Regions from separate parts of the Homo sapiens genome. Here region 1 is linked to region 2. The links are contacts of gene promoters, found by promoter capture Hi-C in blood cells and fetal thymus (Javierre and others, 2016). All regions are on one chromosome and are shown on one strand. The core of a region is centred on a gene start or on the middle of the fragment in contact, and the rest is flanking DNA. Distances in the headings are between cores, read along the strand shown. Region 1 overlaps CCDC42 (coiled-coil domain containing 42). Region 2 holds the start of NDEL1 (nudE neurodevelopment protein 1 like 1).

Region 1 (4,176 bases), core at 1,666-4,165, 300 kb after region 2:
TTCTCATCTCAGATCCACTGAGTCAGAGACTCTGCGGGTGGGGCCCAGTAATACTCCTCACCCTCCCAGGTGATCCTGATGTTGTTAAATTTTGAGAGTCCCTGCTCTGCTTCTCTGTCAGGTTCATTCTTCCACCCAACCAACTGGCAACCTCCTCGGCCCAGCCGACCCCACGGGCCCAGTGCCTGTCCCCTCCTCCTACCATGTCCAGCTGCTTGTGGGTGTCCTCCAGTGCCACCTCAGTCACCTCCTTCAGGTGCTTGCTCACGATCTGGAAGAGGTTCAGCGTGGCCATCTTAATGGTGCCAAGCAGGAGGGTCTTCTTGGCTGCGGTGTTCTGGATGTGCGCCCAGCGAGATTCCTGGAGAGTGGATAAGGACGGGGCATGAGCACAGCATGTGGTGTGTGTGTGTTTGTGTGTATGTGTGTGTGTGTATGCTCAGGGCCCGCACTCACCCAGTGCCTGGGAGCCCCCGGCCCGCCCCGGGCCCCTCACCCAGAAGATGACATTGCTGCGGGCACGGTCAAAGCGCATCTGCAGCCTTGCCAGCTCATTGTTTTGCTGCAGGATCTCATCATCCTTTTCCTCCATGTAGCGCGCCAGCCGGGCCTTGGCGCGCTCAATCTTCTCCTGGCCTTCCTGCGCAGACTGCATGAGGTCGTGGCGCATGCTCACCAGCGTCTTGTAGCGTGCAATCACCTCATGGATCTCCTCGAACTGTGGTCAGGGGCTCAGGTCAATGCACAGCCAGCCCCTGGGGCCTGAGGGAGCCACCCAGTCCTGCCAACCTCCAGCCTGGATGCCTGGACACCTGGACACCTGGGCAGGCAGGCCCTTGGCCAGGGTCACGGCCAGAGGCTGTGAGGGACACTGGGGTTCCGCTGCCTGCTTCTCCTGGGTTTGTACGGGCCACGGTCCATTTGTTGGGCAGGGGGATGCACAACTGGGCTAGGGATTTTCGACTTTAACTGCATGTGAGAATCACCTGTAGGGGCTTTAAAAAGGACACCTGCCAGTCTCCACCCCCAGAGATTCAGATGAATAAACAAGTCTTCTGTGGTCTCTGGCATCTGAATTTTGCAAAAGGTCCCCTGGTGGCTCTAGGCACAGCCAGGGTTGATAATCGCTGATGGAAGGCATTTTGCAATGTCTTCCAAGGCAAGAATTTCCTATTCAACAAGATTGTACCAGGAACCACTTACAAGCCAGGAGCTATGCTAAATGCTAGGGAAATAGCAGGAGTTAGGAAAACCAGATTCTGCTCTTAGGAAGCTTACAGCTTGGGGGGTGGCATGGAGGGAGGACAGACAGACAAGTAAACAGTCAGTTACAACAGCAAGATAAGCCCTATCTATGACTGGGGGATAGGGCTGGAGGGGACTCTGGGAAAGCCTTCACGTTGGTGATCTCTGGTATTTGTTCATTTACTGAGGGAGAAGCAGGGATAGAGAGGGTGCTGGTGGGGCAGGTGGCCTGCCAGACTCAGCTCACCTCCCCCAGCCTGGTCCAGAACCATGCCACTCTGGCCCTAACCCTCAGGTCCCACTCAGTGGAACAGAAGCCATGAAACCCACGCTCTTTAGAAGGCAGCATGAACACCAGTTCTGTGATACCAAGTTGCCTTCCTAGGGGCTTATCAAAGCATGCCTTTCAGCCGCCCAGGGGAAACTTCCCGAGCACCTTCTCCATCTCGTGACATCTCCAGTGATGGATGCGTGTCCTGGGAACTGCCCTGCTGGCCTTTCCCCAAATATGCCTCTTTGGGGAAGGGCCACCCAACCCAGCACGGAAAGAGGTAGGAACAGCCAGAAAAGGTTTCATGGGAGAAAGTGTGGCTGAAATGAGATGAGAGGTATATAAATAGAAGATAGCTAGCAAAAGCAGGTGTAGGGAGGTGAGGCAGTGCTACAGGTGAAGGAGACAGCCTGGGCAAAGATGAATGGAATAGGGGGTTGTATGTTCAGGATGCTGAAGGTAGCCTGAGTTCAAGATGGGGAGGGAGAGACTGAGAAGAAGAAGAAAGGAAGAAGAAAGCAGAAGAAGAAAGAAAGAGGGAAGGAGGAAGGAAGAAGAAGAAGAAGAAAGAGAGAGAGGGAGGGAGGGAGAAAGGAAGGAAAAGAAAAAAAGAAAAGAAGAGGGAGGGAGGAAGGAAGGGAAAGAAAAAAGAAAAGAAAAAGGAAAGAAAGAAAAAGAAAAAAAGAAAAGCAAGCAAGCAAGCGAGCTCAGTAAACCTTGGGAAGGAGTGTGGACTTTATCCATTGAAGGATTTTAAGAAACAGACAATTCACGTGTGCATTTCTGAAAGTTCATCTGGCACACAGTGCAACAGTGTACCACAGTTCAAATAAATGGACCACATCAGAGCTACTAGGAACACACCTCTAAACTTAATGCTGATGTCAAAAGGATTTAGGTGCCAAATCGAAGAGCCACCCACTGCCCAAAGATGAGATGATTTGAACATTAGTAAGAATAAGTGCAAAGGATTAAAACATATCAAATATGTTAAAAATCCATCAGTTCACAATGATACTAGAAACATTACAGGTCAGTGCTAGAGAACAAATTCATTATTCTGAAAACTAAATAAAGCATTTAACAAACTTTCTCTGCGAGACCCACATAGTAATCAAATGGTGGATGAAGGAAAGGATCTCTTTATGAAGTCCTTTTCTTTATGGTAGTATTCTAGCAAATAAATGAGGAAGGGTTGCTAGTGAGTGTCTTCCCCCGACCAGTGAGGAAACCAATATTCTGACTTCTATCAATAAAGATTAATTTTACCTGTTTTTAAACACATCAATGGAATCATACGATATAACCTCTTTTGTGTCTGGCTTAAGAAGCATACCAACTAAGGGCAGTGTGAGGACCTTATATGGACTCTCATTGGAACAAACCAACTGTACAAAAAGCATCCGTGCAATAATTTGTCTTAAAAGACAGGGTCTCACTCTATTGTTCAGGCTGGACTACAGTGGCATAAACACAGCTCACTGCAGCCCTGACCTCCTGGGCTCACGCAGTCCTCCTGCCTCAGCCTCCCAAGTAGATGGGACCACATGTGTGTGCCACCATTCCTGACTGATTTTTATTTTTTAATTTTTTGCAGATTTGGGGGGGGTCTCACTTTGTTGCCCAGGCTGGTCTTGAACTCCTGGGCTCAAGTGATCCTCCCACCTCAGCCTCCCAAAGCACTGAGATTACAGGCATGAGCCACCACGCTTGACCCATTTTGTGCAATAAATGATACTGATATTTGATGTTAAGGAATTACTATCAATTGTATAGTAGGTGTGACAATGGTGTAGTTATTTTAAAAAGAGCTCTCATCTCTTAGAGATACATACTGCAGAGAGACGCAAATGGATGAAAATATATTGTTTGCTTCAAAATGGCAGAGGTGGGAAAGTGTGGGGGATGTGACTATGAATTAATCATTATTAGAATCAGGTAATGAGCAACAGGTGTTCAATAGACTATTGTCTTTACTTTTGTGTATGCTTAAAAAATTCCGTATAAAAAGTTACAAAACATTAAATGTGACAAAATAATAAGCATGATTTGAGATTTTTTTTTTTTTTTTTTTGAGACGGAGTCTAGCTCTGTCACCCAGGCTGGAGTGCAATGGCATGATCTTGGCTCACTGCAACCTCTGCCTCCCGGGTTCAAGCAATTCTCCTGCCTCAGCCTCCGGAGTAGCTGAGATTACAGGCACCCGCCATCACGCCCAGCTAATTTTTGTATTTTTAGTAGAGACAGGGTTTCACCGTGTTGGCCAGGGTGGTCTCGAACTCCTGACCTCGTGATCTGCCCACCTCGGCCTCCCCAAAGTGCTGGGATTACAAGCGTGAGCCACCGCACCTGGCTATTTGAGAATTTTTGAAAGCAGAATACTCAAATAAAAAGTTACAAAACGTTAAATGTTACAAAATGTTACAAAATAATAAAAAGCATGACTTGAGAATTTTTAAAAGCAGGATACTCGTGATGTCTGAGGACAGGTGAAGAAACATAAGATTTGGAAGGACACAAAGGAGTTCATTTACTGGATTTCAATTATCGGTAGTGTTTGATTTAAGACAAAAGAACTGGGGGCAGATGGGGAAAATACGAAGATTTAGCAAAGCTGTGTGATGAGTACTTGGTTGCTGTTATGTGTGTCTCTATACTTT
Region 2 (3,995 bases), core at 1,218-3,717:
TCTTAAAATGAATTATCCATTTGTAAACTGCTGACTTCTTTTGGGGCTTTGTCCTTTTACACTTTTATAAAGCGTCAATGATTCCACCATTTTTCCACCCAGGCTTCACCATAAATTTAGTATTTTGTATTGCTTCAATTTTGTAGAATATGTGTTCTGATAGGGACTCTCTTCAAACTGATTTCTTATCTTTCTTGGTGCTTCAAGCTAGATCCTGTTCAGACATGTTATAGCAAGTTAGAACAAATTTATTTTGGTGCAAACATTTATTTTATTTTTTTAGAGACAGGTGTCTCACTGTGCTGCCCAGGCTGGTCTCGAACTTCTGGGCTCAAGTGATCTGTCTACCTCAGCTTCCCAGAGTGCTGGGATTACAGGTATGGGCCACCATGCTTGGCCCTGTGCAAAAAAAAAATTGGAAATCCATGCATAGTTTTTTCATAATATGCATATTATTCATAATATTATTCATAATAGGCATATGTAATATGTTACCTTTCCCACAAACCCCATTAATCCCTTCTCTGATCTTTATTGATTTGGGTACCTCTTACAATCCATCTTGCATTGTTCCTGTTTATGTCCATCGCCCTCAAAAATATAAACTGGGCCTCCTAGGCTCACTTTGTTTTCACCTTGAGGCATGTCTTACACATTATTTTTGTGTTCACACCCACAAATCCAATCCTAAAAGCACTGAAATTGGAAAGGATTACATTGCGTGCCGCATGGAGGCTGGTGCCTGTAATCCCAGGACTTTGTGGGGGGCTGAGGTGGGAAGATTGCCTGAAGTCAGGAGTTCTTTTTTGTTTTGTTTTGTTTGTTTTTAGACGGAGTCTCACTCTGTCGCCCAGGTTAGAGTGCAGTGGTGCTCACTGCAACCTCCGCCTCCCGGGTTCGAGCGATTCTCCTGCCTCAGCCTCCGGAGTAGCTAGGATTACAGGTGCCCACCATCATGCCTGGCTAATTTTTGTACTTTTAGTAGAGACAGGGTTTCACCATGTTGGCCAGGCTGGTCTCGAAGTCCTGGCCTCAGGTGATTTGCCCGCCTCGGCTTCCCAAAGTGCTGCAGCGCCTGGCCGAAGTCAGGAGTTCTTGACCAGCCTGGGCAACACAGTAGACCCCATCTCCTAAAGGAAAGGATTACCTTGTACATTATACAGCAAAAGTTCTTAAAATTGTTTTTAAAATGTATCTCTTCCTTTAAGTTTCCACTCCCTATGTAAGTTGCCTATCCCTCTTTCCCTCCTTTTTGGGCTAGTATCGTCTCCAGCTTGCTTCCAAGTCCGCTAGGGAATACACACGCGCGCACACACACATACACGTGTGTGTTTACGTACTAAAAATATATAAACATTAATAATGCAAGATGGGGCCGGGCGCTGTGTCTCACGCCTGTAATCCCAGCACTTTGGGAGGCCGAGGCGGGCGGATCACGAGGTCAGGAGTTCGAGACCAGCCTGGCCAACATGGTGAAACCCCGTCTCTACTAAAAATACAAAAATTAGTCGGGCGTGGTGGCAGGCGCCTGTAATCCCAGCTACTAGGGAGGCTGAGGCAGGAGAATTGCTTAAACCTGGGAGGCGGAGGTTGCAGTGAGCCGAGATCGCGCCACTGCACTCCAGCCTGGGCAACAAGAGCGAAACTCCGTCTCAAAAACAAACAAACAAACAAACAAACAAAAACCAAGATGGATTGTAAGAGGTATATATATACACATAGGACTCCATTTCTTGGGGGACCTGGAGGGGAGAAAGTCACACCCATACACACACGTACACGCATGTATACAAAAATGAATATATGCTCAGATATATACAATATATAAATGGGCAAATATAAAATCCCCTTTGTGCCAACGAATCCATTCATTCATTCATCAAATATTTGAGCGTCCACTTTGCCTAGAACCAAGTTATCTGTTGGGATGAGCAAGGCATAAGAGGTTCTAGCTCTCATAGAACTTAGAATTCTACTGGAGGAAGATGAGAACAAATACAAAATGTAAACAGTGGAAGTTCTGTAAAAACAACACAGAGCTTTGTGAGAGTGATGCTTAGAATGCTCCTGATGTTCCATTGGGTGTTCGAGCAGGGGGAATGGACTCGGAGGTGAACTATGAGCCGAGATTCATTTTATAAACGGGAACACAGACACATGGACACTTGAAGGGCCTTGGTGGCCAGAAAACTGAAGGCAGGTTCCCATCCGTCTTGGCACCACTCTCCCGAATAGCAGTTTCAGGGAACTGCACAAGCCAAAACCAGCCGGTCGCAGAGTCCAGGAGCGCCTGCGCAAGAGGACGCCTGCGCAAGAGGACGCCGTCAGCTTGGCGTCAGCGCGCCGGGCTCTGGCCCGCCCCCTGTGACACCAGCCCCGCCCCACCCCGCCCCGCATACCCGTGCGCTGCCGCGCATGCTCCGAGCCCCGCCCCCGTGCGTCACAGAATGGCCTCGGACACCCAGGCAGTCCCTGACGTGTCGGGGAGGAGCCGGGCGCGGAGGTACGCTGAGTGGAGCTCGGGGCTGCGTAGGGGAGCTGAGCCGAGCGGCTGGGCGGGCCTGGCCGGGCCGGCGGAGGGGAGACGTCGGTTGAGCGGCGGCGAACATGCGCTTTTGACACATTGGAGGTGAGCCTGCAGCGCGGGGCCGCTCCCTAAGGGGCTGCGCTGGGCCGGCGGCGCCGAGGCCTGCCCTTGGGGAGCCTTCCCGGCCCGGGGCCGTGTCTGAGGCTCCGCCGGGGCGGGCCGGGCCGGGTTCCGGGGCGGCCAGCCTGGGGGCAACTGTTCCAACCGCTCTAACTGTCCCCTCCCTTCCCTGGTCCGATGTGTGGCCCCCCAGGGGCGCCTGCAAGGGAACGATTCCGGTGGCCTCCGGAAGATGTGCCCCGTTCCGGGTAGGGTGAGGGCTGGCGGTGACGGAGGCCGGGACGTGGCACCGTGGGCTGGGGCGCTGGCGGCGCAAGGAGTGGCCCAGTCGGAGGTGGCAGCGGCGCGCCCAGCCCGCCTCCTCCTACCCCCTCTTCGAAATTCCTTCATTTGCGAGGGTGGCTTGGAGCGGGGTTGCATTTTGATCTCTCAGTGCCTCTCTCCCATGGGGGGCGAGAGCGCGAGCAGCCCACGTTGGGCTCGGATTGGCATTCTCCTGACTCCCGCCCGGAACTGCTAATCATCCTCCCCCTGGAGTTCGGCAAAGTGTCACCAACGGGCTCGGGTTACTTGTGCTCGACTCTTTTCTTGCTGTAAGCCATGAGATGACCCTTTAAGTTTTGCAAAGGAGGTGAGAGTTCTGTCACCACTGATTATTACCTTCTATTTACGTAGCACCTTTACACGTTTCAGAGCACTCTTCTTCCTATCTTTTTCTAACCGCATCACCTTGTGGTTGCAACTGATTATGTTATCGCCATTTCGATGGGTAAATGGAGCTGGGATGGGGGTAATTATTTATACTTAGGTTCAACCAACTGGTGAGTGGTTTAGCTTGGATCATAATTTACATTTCTAGGCTCGGAGTTCTGGTTTCTTTTCGTGGGATTTTTATACCCTTCTCAGCTACAAAACAAGGCAGAAAATGTGACTTGCCAAAGATATGCCAGAAGCTGGTAGATTACTTACTCAATTATTTTTGAGAAAACTCACCTAGGATAAAAACGGCTGCTCAGTCATGAGAAAAATCTTCCTGTGAAGCTTGTTCAGGAGTTGCTGGTTAATTGCTTTGCTAAATCGTGAAGTTGATGGGCACAGTGCAGCGTTAAGTCATGGGCTGAAGAGAAGTAAAGGGAAACCAAGTGAAGTATTTCTTCTGAATTATTATTAAAATTATTGTTATTTAAAATTAGAGTGCGTGAGAAACAAAACCTTTGGCCAGCCCTGGTTAGAGGTTGACTTGATCCAGATAGAAGTTGCTAAATCTTCTGAAGCTGTAGTTCTTTTGATTTTTTTAAATTAAATAAATTGAAGTTGGATAAAGAGCTTAAAATAAGTAGGAACCTTA

Evidence for each region. The method cuts DNA at HindIII sites, captures the fragments that hold promoters and counts their contacts. A CHiCAGO score of 5 or more calls a contact.
Region 1: a contact is called between a fragment that was not itself captured here and the fragment with the promoter of NDEL1 in region 2, in 12 of 17 cell types (total CD8 T cells, naive B cells, non-activated CD4 T cells and 9 more). The highest score is 11.1, in total CD8 T cells.

What each region holds. Positions count from the first base shown.
Region 1 is chr17:8,734,894-8,739,069 of GRCh38, forward strand. It overlaps CCDC42 (coiled-coil domain containing 42), which reads right to left. Exons shown (of 7, transcript NM_144681.3): 5 at 497-718; 6 at 203-361. Among named protein-coding and RNA genes, the nearest start is that of CCDC42, 7.9 kb to the right of the region's middle. RefSeq lists an enhancer at 3,939-4,176. The HindIII fragment of the contact is 3,288 bases long and covers 1,272-4,176 here.
Region 2 is chr17:8,433,417-8,437,411 of GRCh38, forward strand. It overlaps NDEL1 (nudE neurodevelopment protein 1 like 1), which reads left to right and starts at 2,468. Exons shown (of 9, transcript NM_030808.5): 1 at 2,468-2,629. RefSeq lists silencers at 2,272-2,441, 2,542-2,741, 2,782-3,021. The HindIII fragment of the contact is 3,991 bases long and covers 1-3,686 here.